Regions from separate parts of the Homo sapiens genome. Here regions 1, 2, 3 and 4 are each linked to region 5. Evidence: promoter capture Hi-C in 16 types of primary human blood cells and fetal thymus (Javierre and others, 2016). All regions are on one chromosome and are shown on one strand. Each heading gives the region's core, a stretch centred on a gene start or on the middle of the fragment in contact. The rest is flanking DNA. Distances are from core to core; before and after follow the strand shown. Region 1 overlaps DOCK3 (dedicator of cytokinesis 3). Region 2 overlaps DOCK3 (dedicator of cytokinesis 3). Region 3 overlaps DOCK3 (dedicator of cytokinesis 3). Region 4 overlaps DOCK3 (dedicator of cytokinesis 3). Region 5 holds the start of DOCK3 (dedicator of cytokinesis 3).

What was found. Contacts are between HindIII fragments. The CHiCAGO score rates a contact against its expected background, and 5 or more counts as called.
Region 1: a contact is called between a fragment that was not itself captured here and the fragment with the promoter of DOCK3 in region 5, in 1 of 17 cell types (M2 macrophages). The highest score is 7.0, in M2 macrophages.
Region 2: a fragment that was not itself captured here is called in contact with the fragment with the promoter of DOCK3 in region 5 in 1 of 17 cell types (M2 macrophages); the score reaches 5.9 in M2 macrophages.
Region 3: a contact is called between a fragment that was not itself captured here and the fragment with the promoter of DOCK3 in region 5, in 1 of 17 cell types (M2 macrophages). The highest score is 5.4, in M2 macrophages.
Region 4: a contact is called between a fragment that was not itself captured here and the fragment with the promoter of DOCK3 in region 5, in 1 of 17 cell types (M0 macrophages). The highest score is 5.2, in M0 macrophages.

The regions. Positions count from the first base shown.
Region 1 is chr3:50,944,624-50,947,430 of GRCh38, reverse strand. All of the region lies in intron 5 of DOCK3 (dedicator of cytokinesis 3), which reads right to left. Among named protein-coding and RNA genes, the nearest start is that of MIR4787, 270 kb to the right of the region's middle. The HindIII fragment of the contact is 1,810 bases long and covers 616-2,425 here.
Region 2 is chr3:51,082,935-51,085,634 of GRCh38, reverse strand. All of the region lies in intron 7 of DOCK3 (dedicator of cytokinesis 3), which reads right to left. Among named protein-coding and RNA genes, the nearest start is that of MANF, 300 kb to the left of the region's middle. The HindIII fragment of the contact is 588 bases long and covers 975-1,562 here.
Region 3 is chr3:51,028,363-51,031,062 of GRCh38, reverse strand. All of the region lies in intron 5 of DOCK3 (dedicator of cytokinesis 3), which reads right to left. Among named protein-coding and RNA genes, the nearest start is that of MIR4787, 350 kb to the right of the region's middle. The HindIII fragment of the contact is 3,047 bases long and covers 1-2,700 here.
Region 4 is chr3:51,055,057-51,057,824 of GRCh38, reverse strand. All of the region lies in intron 5 of DOCK3 (dedicator of cytokinesis 3), which reads right to left. Among named protein-coding and RNA genes, the nearest start is that of MANF, 330 kb to the left of the region's middle. The HindIII fragment of the contact is 2,995 bases long and covers 1-2,768 here.
Region 5 is chr3:50,673,540-50,676,285 of GRCh38, reverse strand. It overlaps DOCK3 (dedicator of cytokinesis 3), which reads right to left and starts at 1,359. Exons shown (of 53, transcript NM_004947.5): 1 at 986-1,359. The coding sequence starts at 1,022. It overlaps MIR4787 (microRNA 4787), which reads right to left and starts at 1,206; the gene lies at 1,123-1,206. RefSeq lists a silencer at 1,106-1,395. The HindIII fragment of the contact is 16,225 bases long and covers 1-2,746 here.

The DNA.
Region 1 (2,807 bases), core at 271-2,770, 270 kb before region 5:
ATGCTTTCAACTGAAATGGAAATTTACTTCACACTGAAAATCTAGTCAAGTAGAAAAGGCATATAATCACTCTAAATAATTTGACTACTTAGGTTATCTCTTCTGTAGTTACCATGTCTTCTTGGGGACTAAATGCTTTCAAACTATTATAAGTTGACTATGTCTGGTGTGAAAGCTATATATTACAAAATTAAAATAAATCACATTTTGAAGAAAAAGTCAATTTTAAAACATATATTTATATAAATAATTTGAGAATCAATTTCTATTTCAATACAGACAGTAGTGAAGGTAAGCTCACTATATCACATAAAAAAAAACTAGTAAATTAAAAGTAGTGGGAATCAATCATTTAATGAGTCAGTTCACTATTCCTCAGTGACATCTCATAGATCAATTAGGTTTGTGTTTGGTTTTTTTATCCTGTTGTTAACAGGATTTAACTATTTTCTCACATAAAAAGTTTAGAAGTTAAATAGGATTTTTACAGTGACTGTACAATGTGAACAAAGTTTTAGACATCTTCCATCGTTGCATCCTGACATCCCTGGAATAAAATTTTTAACCTTGTAGTTGTCATATCCTGGTAATAAGACAGCAACTGCATCATAAGCTTACCCAAAACTAAAAAGAGAGAAGGATGAAGGACGATGGGCTAATGAGCATGCTAATGCAGTTACAAGAAAACAATCTTGTGACAATGCAGTCTGCTACAAGCAAAACAATGGCATTTCCAGAAATCCCTTGTACAAACTACTTCTTATTTCTTATAGCCAGAAGTGTATCATACAACCTCCCCTAGCTTCAAGGGAGTCAGGAAAGATGAATACTTTTTAGCTGTACACACTGCCTACCTAAACAGTTCTGAGATCTTTTAACAAGGAAGAAGATTCTGGATACTGGATAGCCACTAGGGTGTCTGCCAAAATATACTTTTAGATTGTAAACCTAGCTAAGATGAAATACACTAAAAGTTATCTTCAAAAAACAAAAGATAGCCTTACATAGTTAAAATACTAATTTTAATTACATTGAGAGAAAAATCTTTGAAACTATCATATCTTGTTATGTACAAAATATATCTTTAATGCAGCAAAAAACGGGCATTATCTTCCAAAGATTAAAAAGTTGAGGGTGGGGTAAGATAGGGAACTAGTATATATTTGAAAAATAGTAGGGCTAAAGCACGTCAAAGCCCTTCTTCAGTAACAGACTCCTACAACAGTAAATACCCATTCCTATGAAATAGCAACAAAAGTCAAATATGAGTAAGCATTTAATCACTGAAAATGCACAAGGCACAGTTATAAGCCTTTTTTTTTTTTTTTTTTTTTTTAAGAGATGGGGTTTCACTCTATTGCCCAGAGCTGGAGCAAAGTAGCTCAATCATAGCTCACAGCAGCCTTAAACTCCTGGGCTCAAATGATCTTCCTGCCTCAGCTTCCCAAGTAGCTGGGATTACAGAAATGAGCCACTACACTGGCCCTAAACTTTTTATATCATTTAAACAACATGACAACCCTGGAATGTGGGTCCCATTATCCCCTACAGTGAAGCTAAAGTGCTCAAAATCATGCAGCTAGCAAATTGTGACATTTGAATCTGAATTCAGGAAATCTGTTTCCAAAGCCTGTGCACTTAGCCACTATATGATATTCCCCTAAATTCCTCTTATACATAATCTGAATATATAAAGGTGCAAAAATGTATGTTCTTAATCTTTAACAAATCAATATTCTTGGGATAACCATAAAAATGAATAATGGAATTTTGCATATTCTGTTATGAGGGGTCTCAACGTGCTATGCCATCTTCCATTTGCAAATTTAATCTTCCAGGGATTTAAAGGAAGGGATTATACAGCAGAATTCAGAGAACTGTGTCTTGTTTCTCATAAAATCTAGAAATTGTTCATTTCTTAGAGACTCTTTAAAAAATAAAACATAATCTCTTATATTAATACAAAATAGAACTGTTACAAAGCATGTCATCTTCAGTAACTATGCCCTAGTAGAGTGTTTAATCTCTTCCTATAAAATGAAAATACTAAAGTATTATACTAAATACTAAAGTATTATATTAAAGTATGTTTCATTACAAAAAACAAACTATATGGTAAACTTCATCATACATACCCACTTAAATAAAGGTGAATTTTTAATAGGAAAGCAAAAATTCTAATAATATTGTCACCCTACAGTAGTACACACAAAATGACTGAAGCAATTTATCTACAATTATAAAACGCTTCAGTTGTATACTTGAGGAAAAATTCACAGTCAAAATTAATGCAAACACACATACCTTTACCTTTTAGTTTATCCTTATCTTATTAAATGTCATCTTAACAGGATACTCTAGTTGAATGTTAAATTCTCTCACAGAAAATGCCATGTTTAAGTTGATAGGAAACAACTACAAAGCTTTTTTGGGTTTTTATTTGTTAGTTTGTGTTTGTTTTTGTTTTTTTGAGATGGAGTTTCATTCTTGTTGCCCAGGCAGGAGTGTGATGACGCGATCTCAGCTCACTGCAGCCTCCACCTCCCAGGTTCAAGCAATTCTCCTGCCTCAGCCTCCTGAATAGCTGGGATTACAGGCTCCTGCCACCATGCCCAGCTAATTTTTTGTACTTTTAGTAGAGATGGGGTTTTGCCATCTTGGCCAGGCTGGTCTCGAACATCTGGCCTCAGGTGATCCGCTCACCTCAACCTCCCAAAGTGCTAGAATTACAGGCCTGAGCCACCATGCCCCGCCTACAAAGCTTTTTGATGAAGATTTCCTAGTTGCTGGAAAATTCCCTTTTTCTT
Region 2 (2,700 bases), core at 19-2,518, 410 kb before region 5:
TTTCCATTTTCACTTGTTTCAAGCAAGTTTTTAATTTCCTTTTTAATTTGTTCATTCACTCATTGCTTATTCAGGAGCATGCTGTTTAATTTCCATGTGTTTATACAGTTTACAAAGTTCCTCTTTTTATTGATTTCTAGTTTTATTTCCCTGTGGTCTGAGAAGATACTTGACATGATTTTGATTTTTCAAAATTTGTTGAGACTTGTTTGTGGCCTAATATGTGCTGTATCCTGGAGTATGTTCCATGTGCTGATGAGAAAAATATGTGCTCTATACTGTTGAATGAAATATTTTGTAATGTCTGTTAAGTACATTTGTTCTATAGAACAGAGTAAGCCTGATGTTTGTTGACTTTCTGTCTGGATAATCTGTCCAGTGCTGAAAGTGTAATGCTGAAGTCCCCAACTATTAATGCATTGGGGTCTGTTGAACTCTTTTGCTCTGATAGTATTTGCTTATATATCTGGGTGCTGTGGTATTGGATGCACATATATTTACAACTGTTATATCCTCTTGCTGAATTGATCCCTTTATCATTACATAATGACCTTATCTATTTTTATGTTTTTTGATGTAAAGTCCATTTTCTCTGATATAAGTATAGCTATTATTGCATGCTTTAGGTTTCTATTTGCATGGAATTTTTTTTCCATCCCTTCACTTTCAGTCTATGTGTGTCGTTATAGGTAAACTGAGTTTTTTGTAGAGAACATATAGTTGGGTCTTGATTTTTAAAATCAATTCAGGCAGTCTATATTTTTTAATTGGAGAATTTAAACAGTTCATATTCAAGGTTGTTAGTAACAGGTAAGGACTCACTCCTGTTGTTTTGTTAATTATTTTGTGATTGTTTAATACATTCTTCATTTCTTTCTTCCTTGTTTCTTGTTTGCCTTTAAGATTTGGTGGTTTTTTTATGATGGTAATGTTTAACTCCTTTCTCATTTGTATATGTATGCTACCAGTAAGCTTTATACTTTTGTGTGTTTTCATGATGGTAGACATTGTCCTTTCGCTTCCAGATACAGAAATCCCTGAAACATTTCTTGTAGGACTGGTCCAGTGGTGATGAATTCCCTCAGTTTTTGCTTGTCTAGAAAGATTTTATGTAACCTCCATTTAAGGATAGCTTTGTTGGGTATAGTATTCTTGGCTGACAATTCCCCTCATGCCCCCACCAATCCCTCACCCCAGAACTTTGAATCTGTCATCCCATTCTCTCCTGGTCTAGAAGGTTTCTGCTGAGAAATGTGCTATTAGTCTGGTGGAGATTCCCTTATATGTGACATGATGCTTTTAACTGTTTTTAGAATTATTTGTCTTTGATTTTTAATAGTTTGATTATATATATATACCTTTAAAATCTTATTAGATTACATCTATTTGGGGATATTTGAGCTTTCTGTATTTGGATGTCTTTATCTCTTGCAAGACTTGTGAAGTTTTCAGCTATTATCTCATTAGCAGGTTTTCTATATCTTTGCCCATGCCTTCTCCTTGTGAAACTGCCAAAATTTGAATATTTATTTGCTTCTGGTACCCTGTATGTCACATAAGCTTTCTTTACTCTTTTTTCTTTTCATCTGATTGATGTCAAAAAACCTGTCTTCAGATTCAGAAACTCTTTTATTTATTTATTTATTTATTTGAGATGGAGTCTCGCTCTGTCGCCCAGGCTGGAGTACAGTGGTGTGATCTTGGCTCACTGCAACCTTCGCCTCCTGGGTTCAAGTGATTCTCCTGCCTCAGTCTCCCAAGTAGCTGGGCCTACAGGTGCACATCACCATGCCTGGTTAATTTTTTCTATTTTTAGTAGAGACAAGGTTTCACCATGTTGGTCAGGCTGGTCTCGAACTCTTGGCCTCAGGTGATCCACCTGCCTTGGCCTCCTAAAGTGCTGGGATTATAGTCATGAGCCACTGCGCTTGGCCAGAAAGTCTTTCTTTTGCTTGATTTCATCTATTGTTGAAGCTCTTGACTGTATTTTTTCTTTCATTCACTAAAGCTTCAGTTCCAGGATTTCTGTTTGGTTCCTTTCTATGATGCATATCTCTTTGTTAAACTTCAACTCATGAATTGCTTTTCTGATTTTTTATTGTTTATCTGTGTTCTCTTGTATCTCACTGAGCTTCTTTAATCTTATTTTGAATTATTTTTCAGGGATTTCATTCATTTTCTTTTCTATGGGATCTGTTACTAGAGAATTATTGTCTTTGTTTGGAAGTGTCATGTATCTTTGCTTTTTTATGTTTCTTGTGTCCTTACATTGATATGTGGGCATCCAGTGTAACAGCTGCTTGTTCTAATTTTATAGATTGGTTTACATAGGGAAAGACTTTTTCCTATAGATGTATATTTAGTGTTAGGTAGGGTGCTTTGGATTTGATTCTAGGTGAGTGCAGTAGCAGACTCTCCATATGATTTCTTCAGCTATAATCAGTGTCAGTGGTGTCTGTGAGTTCTGCAGTGACTTAGACTGTGGTTGTTAGTAGATGCTGTGGTGAGGCTTAGCTAGGAACAAGAAGATCAGATGGGCTGGTCCTTAGGTCCCCAGGTGGTATATGTGGGACCCCATGGTGGAAGGTCAGTCCTTGGGCCTCCAGGCAGCATGCTTGGGTGCTAGTGATAATGATCAAGTGGGTACTCAGGCCCCGTGGTGGTACACATGGCACTGGCAATGGCAGTAGCAGTGGTGTG
Region 3 (2,700 bases), core at 108-2,607, 350 kb before region 5:
TCCTGTGAGTACAGCTAAAACATATGAAAAAGTACAAAGCATACCTTTTTGAAGTTAAAGAGTTTTCAAGACAGCCAGGCATTACAAAGCAAAGATCAAGGAAAGAAGGAAAACTCAGTGGGGTAGCCCAACATTTTGCATGCCATTTTCCCAATCAGAGATTTAATGATTCTTAGGTTGGCAAGAAAGGCTAAGAAGCCAGAGAGAGGATGGCCACTAATAGATGAGAGCTTTAGGCAATCACACAGGACGGGGAAGACAAAAATTGGGGTTTGTGCTGCCAAGGTTGTCAAAACTTGAGGGGCTAAGATTTAAAAGAAAACAGAAGCCTATTTAGGTGTGCTCTATGCTCTTGGAGATGTTATTCCTCTTGACACATTTGCTGATTCTTAAAATGCTTATTACTCAGTACTAAAATGACTAGCAGAAAGTAAACTAAAAGTAGAACAGATTTTAGCAGTGTTTTGGAGACAAAAATTGGATCCAGAACTTGACAAGAAGGTAAACAACACACAGTAAACAACCTAGCCTCTCAACTAGAACCACTAGAGGGTGTATCCTAAAAATGGATACTAATCAGAGGTAGACTATACCTTACCATGACTATAATGCTGCCATATCAAAGAATCTGCCTTACTCAAATAGCCAGGGGATAAGGTGAGCACTCTATAGGGGAAGAGGACAGCATGCAAAGCCTCTATAATTTTTCATACGTGATATCTGGGATTCAATTAAAAATTATCAGGCCTACCAGGAGACATGACCATGGAAAAAACAGTCAACTGAAACAGACCAAAAGATGGCCAACTAGGAACAGCATAAATTCTTCTCAGAAAAAAGATCAAAGTTATTAGTGAATGGTCAAGTTTGGAGTGCAAAATGGAAGGTGGAGAGCCAGGACTTGTTGGAATGCCCAACCAAAGAAGTGGGGCGCACAGAAAATGAGCAGCAAAAGTCTGTCTGGCATTGACCTCCAAGGAGGTCAGAGTCCAGTAGAAAGAGTAGGAGAGAGTGCTTTCCTCCTCCCCTTCCCCCTCTGATAATCTGCTTACTGCCAAACTGCTGGAGAGCGCCTCTGGCCCACCCCCCGACCCCGTGTCCCAGGGAAACACAATAGGTGGCAATTAGAGATCTTCTCAGGAACAGAGAACCAGGTGGCCACCTTGAGCAGATGTGCTGAACCTGCCCCTTCAGATGCAGACTGAGATGGCAGGTGCCATGCTAGCTGTGCACATGTGGTACCACTGCCCTGATGAGAGATTCTCCACCCTTGAGCCACTGCACCCTTAGACCACCAGCAGACATACCCCACAACCCACTCTGACTCTGGCAAGCATGAGGGACTGTTGGATCCCCAGGGAGTTGTGGGTCCCCTGGAGATATAACCTTCAACACAAACTGCACCTAAGGGAAGGAGGAGGGCAGCACACCAAAGCCCCGCCTTGGGACAAAGGGAATGCAGGTGTGGCACCAACCACTTCAGGGGGTTCCACCAAAGCCTGGGAATGAACATGAAGAGAGAATCATCTCTTTCCCCCTGTTCCCCTCCCCAGTGCACTGTTGCAGACATGGCAGATGCCTTTCCCACTGGGGCCTCGTGGGTGTGCACTGAAAAAGAATGATTTTTGTGCTTCTTTGGCAGCCCCACCCCCACTGAAAGCCAAGCACATGCTGAGAGAGAGCTTTTCATGCTTTTATGGCAGCTCCAGCCCCGCAGAGGGTGAGCAAGCATGAACTAAGTAAAAGCCTACCTGCTGGCTCTTACTCTTAGACACCATCTACCAGACTGCAGCCTGAATTACACAACCAAAGAAAAATACATCGTTGCAAGTAGCATCTCAGAAAATGACTACATGAACCTATCTGTAACCAAGGAACCCATACAAAACCTTGGCCCTCTGAAAGCATGCAGAAATGAAGAGAAATGATCATATACAACATACAGCACAGTCATATCCTCAAGGGAAAGAAGAATAAAAAATCAAAAAAGCCCATTAAAATTAAAGTAAATTTTTAAAAAAAGAAACATCAGCTCTCTCAGATGAAAAGGAATCAGCACAAGAACTCTGGCAATAAAAAAAGCCAGTGTTTCTTCACCTCCAAAGGATCACACTAGCTCTCTAGCAATGGATGCCAACCAGACTAAAATGTCTGAAATGACAATATAGAATTAAGAATACAGATGGCAAGAAAACACAATGAGATTCTCATGGAAGTTGAAATTCAATACAAAGTCACCAGAGAAATGATCAAGATATGAAAGACAACATAGCTATATTAAAAAAAGAACCAAACAGAACTGGAATTTAAAATTTCACTACAGGAATTTCAAAATGCATTGGAAACCTTAACAACAGACTAGACCAATTAGAAGAAAGAATTTCACAGCTTGAAGACCAGTCTTTGAGTCAACCCACTCAGACAAAAATCAAAGAAAAAACAATTTAAAAAAACAAAACCTTCAAGAAATATGGGATTATGTAAAGCAACCAAGCCCATGACTTATTTTCATTTCTGAGAGAAAAAAACAGAAAGTAAGCAATTTAGAAAACGTATTTGAGGGTATAATTCAGAAAAATTTCCCCAATCTTGCTAGAGGTTGACATGCAGCTACAAGAAATTAAGAGAACACCTGCAAGATACACAAGACAAACATCCCAAAGTTACACAGTATTCTGATTATCCAAGATCAACGTGAAA
Region 4 (2,768 bases), core at 113-2,612, 380 kb before region 5:
ATTAAGTAAAGCAGCACTGTTATTATAACCAATGTGGTGTTAATTTCTTTTTCCGGGCCAACCTAATGACCTCTCTGACCAGAGACCCTAGCAGTAGAGGCTCCACCAACATTGCTCCGACACCGCACTGTGTTCTTGGGCTTGTTAGCATAAGACAGTATATACCACTCAAGGTGAGCAATCTGGGTGACTAGCACCAGAGCATACATTCACCTAGAATGATCTGATGCCACAAAACAGCTGAATACCTCACTCAGGAAAAACAATCCTTTTCTACTTAGAGACCTGCTCCTCAGTGGATTAAAGTAACAGTATAATTAGGTTGGCACTACAGGTTTTGTTTTCTGGCACAATCATCCCTATTTCCTGTCACTGCTAAAATAAAAGGAAAATTCAATGAGGAGGAGATTGGGCAGAAGAAATCTGTATAGCTCATCTTAGCAACACATCCAGCCTCTGCAAAAACCCTACAGACTAATATTTGTCAAGATCAGTCACAGATTATTTGGAAAGTACACTGAAGAGTCAGCAGAAACCATAAATTTAGAATGATTAAACTACTTTACAAACGCATGCCAAGTACAATTTGCCTCACTGTTGTGAAACAATCCCTGGAGCTCTGCAGAAAAAAAGAATATGTTTTAGTGCTCCTGTTTTAAAGATAATTTTTGCTAAATTATTTTTAACCCAGTATGGAAAGAAACGTTGTGCCACAGTGATGCCTCTAAGTCAGTAAATGAGCAAAGTTGTAGGGCATTTGCCAGAAAGTATATTACCTTTATTTTAAAACTACATATGCTTACGGACCAATTAATATAAACACAGCATCATAAAAATCTAATTAAATAAAAATGACATCAGAAATTTTGCTATCCTCAAAGAGAATAATGTCCTGCCACTAGTACTAAAAACTTTACATCAAAATCAATTTAATGGAAGATAAACATTGTTTCCTTCCAATGTTGTTGTGGGAAGATTACCAGATCTCCCCTATTTTACATTTTCTTTTTGAATATTCCTTTATACATAAGTAGATGGGTTTTTTCTCACTTTCTTTTTAACAAATTAACCATTAAGAACTTGAGTTTATTCAAAACTCCCAAAACAGCATTCTTTTTTCATTACTACTAATCTTCAAGTCTCTTCTCATGAAGTAACCTCTAATCCTATTCTAGATGTTTTCTTATATTCCAAAACTCATCCCAATATAATGAAAAGATTTCTAGACTACAGTACTTGGAACCCTAATGACCTTTATGTCAAAAATACCTTTAAATGGCCAGGCACAGTGGCTCACGCCTGTAATCCCAGCACTTTGGGAAGCTGAGGTGGGTGGATCACGAGGTCAGGACATCGAGACCATCCTGGCTAACACTGTGAAACCTCGTCTCTACTAAAAATACAAAAAATTAGCCAGCCATGGTGGCGGGCACCTGTAGTCCCAGTTACTCGGGAGGCAGAGGCAGGAGAATGGTGTGAACCTGGAAGGCAGAGCTTGCAGTGAGCCGAGATTGTGCCACTGCATTCCAGCCTGGGGAACAGAGCGAGACTCCGTCTCAAAAAATAAATAAAATAAAAATAATAATAATAAAATACCTTTAAACCCAGGAATCTAAACTTTCATTTTAGTTTGCCGAACAACATAGTCAGCAACTGAGTACAAAAGATAGAAATTTTTGTGAAACAAAACAGTATCTAAACCAAAGCTAATTCACACTGATTTTCAAGCACATATTTACAACAAATGAAAATGCAAAGAAGCGATATGAAAATTCTTTTTCTCTTCATTAATATGAGGAAGTATCCATACAATATGTATTTCCTTGGCACATACATCTAACTCCTCCACATCTCAAGGGCCATGATATCATCCTCAGTCTATCCCCAGCCCAAATACATCCTCCATTATAGAGTTGATATTCCAAATAACAAATAGCATTATAGCTCTAATCCTCTCTTACAACACATATATTTGCAGGAGAGCTAAGATTTGTAAAAATCTTTCTATTCCACAGAGCAGATCTTCATAAGAAAGGAACAACACCAAAGGTAGAAAGGTAGAAAAAATATTAGAGATATGACAATGGAGGCTGTAGTTGCTGAAGTCATCCATTCACGGATGGATAGATGCCAAGTGAAGGGCATCCATTCACAATTCTGAACAAGGCAGACTTACCTAACAGTGGGCAGTAAACAGCTGAGGCGTTCTCAGGCTCACAGTCACTCCTACTACACAGGACAGATCAAATCTCTACTTAAAGTCAGTCCTCGATGTGTCCATAGGCATCTCTTCTTAGGGAGACTAATAAAAAGCCAGCCTCAATCCTTCCCATGCACAACTATCCACTCCACCAAACATTAAAGGTGAAAGCTGGAAAGTAGATGACTTGTCAAAGAATAGAAAACTAAAAAAGCCCTAAGAGTAAGGTGGAGGAAGACAAGTGAGGAGGGTGGGAAACAGGGAAGAAATCAGTAAGATGCAAGCCTCTGCAGAAAGGCTCTGAGACTGGAGGTACCAGAAATCTCTGAAGCCTAGAAGTATTATCCCCCTTTACCCCCAACCCTTTCCCAGTGTGCTTTCCACATCGAGCTCCCCAGATGTTAACAACCAGGCTGATACCTGCATATGAAGAATGGAGAAGATTCCTCTTTAGGAAAACTCAGCCCAGGGGAAAAGATCCAGAAATATTGACAGCTGCTCTACTTTTTCCATCAAAAGCCAGGCCCTCTTCTAATCCCTCTAAAGTAATGTTCACTAATTGATAAAT
Region 5 (2,746 bases), core at 110-2,609:
GTTACCACTGCAGTTTCAAGTTATTTTGTAGTGAATTGTGAACTAAATCTTGATTAAATTGCGGTAAAGATGGGAAACAAAAATCTATGTTTAGACAGGTTTCCTATCTAAAATTTTCCATTACGAGCTTAGGAAAAACAAAACCTGTACACTCAACATTTTAAATCTGTTTCTAACTGAACAAGATGATAGGTGATGCAATGAGGCTTAACTCTATCATGTAATTGCCACAAAACACTAACATTGTAAAACATTCAATACTTTAAATTACTGAATATTCTTTTTAAAGAAGTTGAATATTGTAAGAATTATTTAGCTTCTGGAGTTTAACACTTACAACATTAAAAAAAGGTTTCTAAGAGGAATAAGGTCTCATCTGAAAACAGGGTTTAAAAAAAAAACCGTATAAACATTGATACATGTCCAAAAACATTTCCCATCGTAAGGTATTATTTCTAATACTAAAGGCAAAACAAATTAAAACAGATCAAACATTTGCAGTCAAATGTCCAAATTTTTGAACTGGGAAAATGATGTCAACGTTTTTCATCCGTTTTCTTGTAAGGTTCCAGATCAAAAATAAACAGCCATCGGGCTCATCAATTCAGGTGCGGAAACTCATTAAAATCGAGCTTTTGGAGGGGAGAAAACATATTCCCAGAATTTGGTTTATCGGGTAAAATTGCCCCGTGGCCCACACCAGAAACCTCGGGCAACTGCCCGGGCCTTGCCCACCCCTCCCGCGGGCCGCACCTGCCAAGGCCGCACCGCCAGCGCCCCCTGCCGCCCTCTCTGCACAGAGACCCGCGCCCACCCCCGCACCCGCACCCGCACCCGCACCTGCCCCCACCCCGCGCTCGCCCCGCGCCGAGGCCGCGCAGCCTGCGGGCAGTGGCGGGGGCACGAGGATGCGAATCCAGGCGGGGCCGGGAGCTGGGCGCGTCCCCCAGAACCCCCGCCACGGCCAGGCCTGAGCCTCACCTACCTACGCCGTATTTCTCCTCCTCCGTGGGGGTCCACATGGCCGTGCCGGGCGCGGCCCCGCGGGCGCGGCGACCGGGCGACAACGCGGCGGGGACGGCCGCGGGCCCGGCTGTGGCGCACCGCGAGTCGAGGCGGGGACGGTCAGGCGGCGCGGGGCAGTGGGCGGCGCATCCCTCACAGGCCGTCCGGGATGCCGCCGCCACCCCCGCCACGTCTGGACCGCGAGGCTCCGCGGGTGGCCCAGCAGCCCCTGGCGGCGCGGGCGAAGGCTCGCCACCTGTCCGTCGCCGCTGCTCCCGTGCCGCCGCTTGCTTCTTCACAGCTCCGCCGCCCGGCTCCCGGCGCCGCCGCGGCTCGGCTCGCCCCAGCGGGCTCGCAGGACGCCCGCGCATGCGCCACTCCCTGCCGCGCAGGGGCTCGCGCTGCCCGGGCTCGCGCCGTCCCGAGCCCGCGCGCGAATCCACGCGCCGCTGCTGCGCGCCAGCGGAGGGAAATCCGCGAGAAGCTATTGGACTGCCCGGCCCCGGACCGGCTTCTAGAATCGCTGGTCCGGGGCCCTCAGCTGCAGCAAACCCCGGAGGGGGCGAAGCCGGTCAGGTGGGCGACTCCCTCTACCCGGACTCCCCACTCGCTTCCGCTTCCAGTGCCTCCTGCCTGCGCCCCGAGATGGCCACAGGCCTCCTGGTCGGAGAGGGGAGATCCAGAAAAGGAGGACACGACACCATTTTCAGACCCATCCCAGTGTCACCCACAGTGCTGTCGGAAAGGTCCCCGGAGCCACCCTGTGCATTCCCAGGGCCCGCAGGATGGAGTCGCCACGAGGGAACCAGGTGGGGTGCACTCGTGCCCCTCTCTCCTGGATCCCCTGTGGGCTGAGGCCGCTGACACCTCCTGGGTTCTTGCTTCTCTGAGATGGCCTGAGTGGTGAATGTTTGGGGCCAGAACAATCAACAGCCGCCTTGCTAGTAAGGAAGAGCTTCATTGGGCCCTTCGTGTTCCTACCCAGGACACGGCATCTGCTGCTCCTGGGTGTCTGCCTCCCTTGGAGCCCTAAGAACTGGCTCCTACCGGAAACTTTCCTCCTCTCTCTCCTCCCTAAGAATCCATTCATTCTGATGCCTGTAAATGTCACCTTGTGACCCCCAAGTCAACCACTTACCAAAGAACAGGAACTGCAGGACTTCTCCTTTCCACCTACATTTGGACCACATGCTCTAATCCCAGCAGATTTGCCCATCTCTGTCACTAGCACTACTAAGTCAAAACCCTGGTGTCATCCTTCACTAGCACTCTCAGACACCACCACTCTTCAAAGCCCAGCTCAGCCCCTCACCTCCAGGAAGCCTGCCCTGACCCATAGTCTCCTTTCCTTCTTTGTCTGGAATTGGAGCTATGTTCGGTTTGTCTTATTTCCCTTATAAGACTGTCAGCTCCCAGAAGGCAAGCTCCAGGCTAAAATCAACTTTCTAAACCCTCACCACCAACCCAGCACCTGTTGTATAGTTGTTGCATGGGAAGCCAGACTAATAGAAGAATATCTTGCAATCAACAGATCTTGTTGATTCTTCGTTCAAAGTGTCATGATTGGTAACTCCTCCCAGGCCTGACTGTGCTCCCCTGGGTTATGGCCACCCCTTCCCACCTTCGGACCTTTAGGCTCCTCCTCTCACTAATCATAGCTGCCCACTCCCGCCCAGAAAAATGTCTGTTCTGTGAATGATAGAATTTCTCAATAGCCAGGTACACTTCTTTTTAGGGGTAG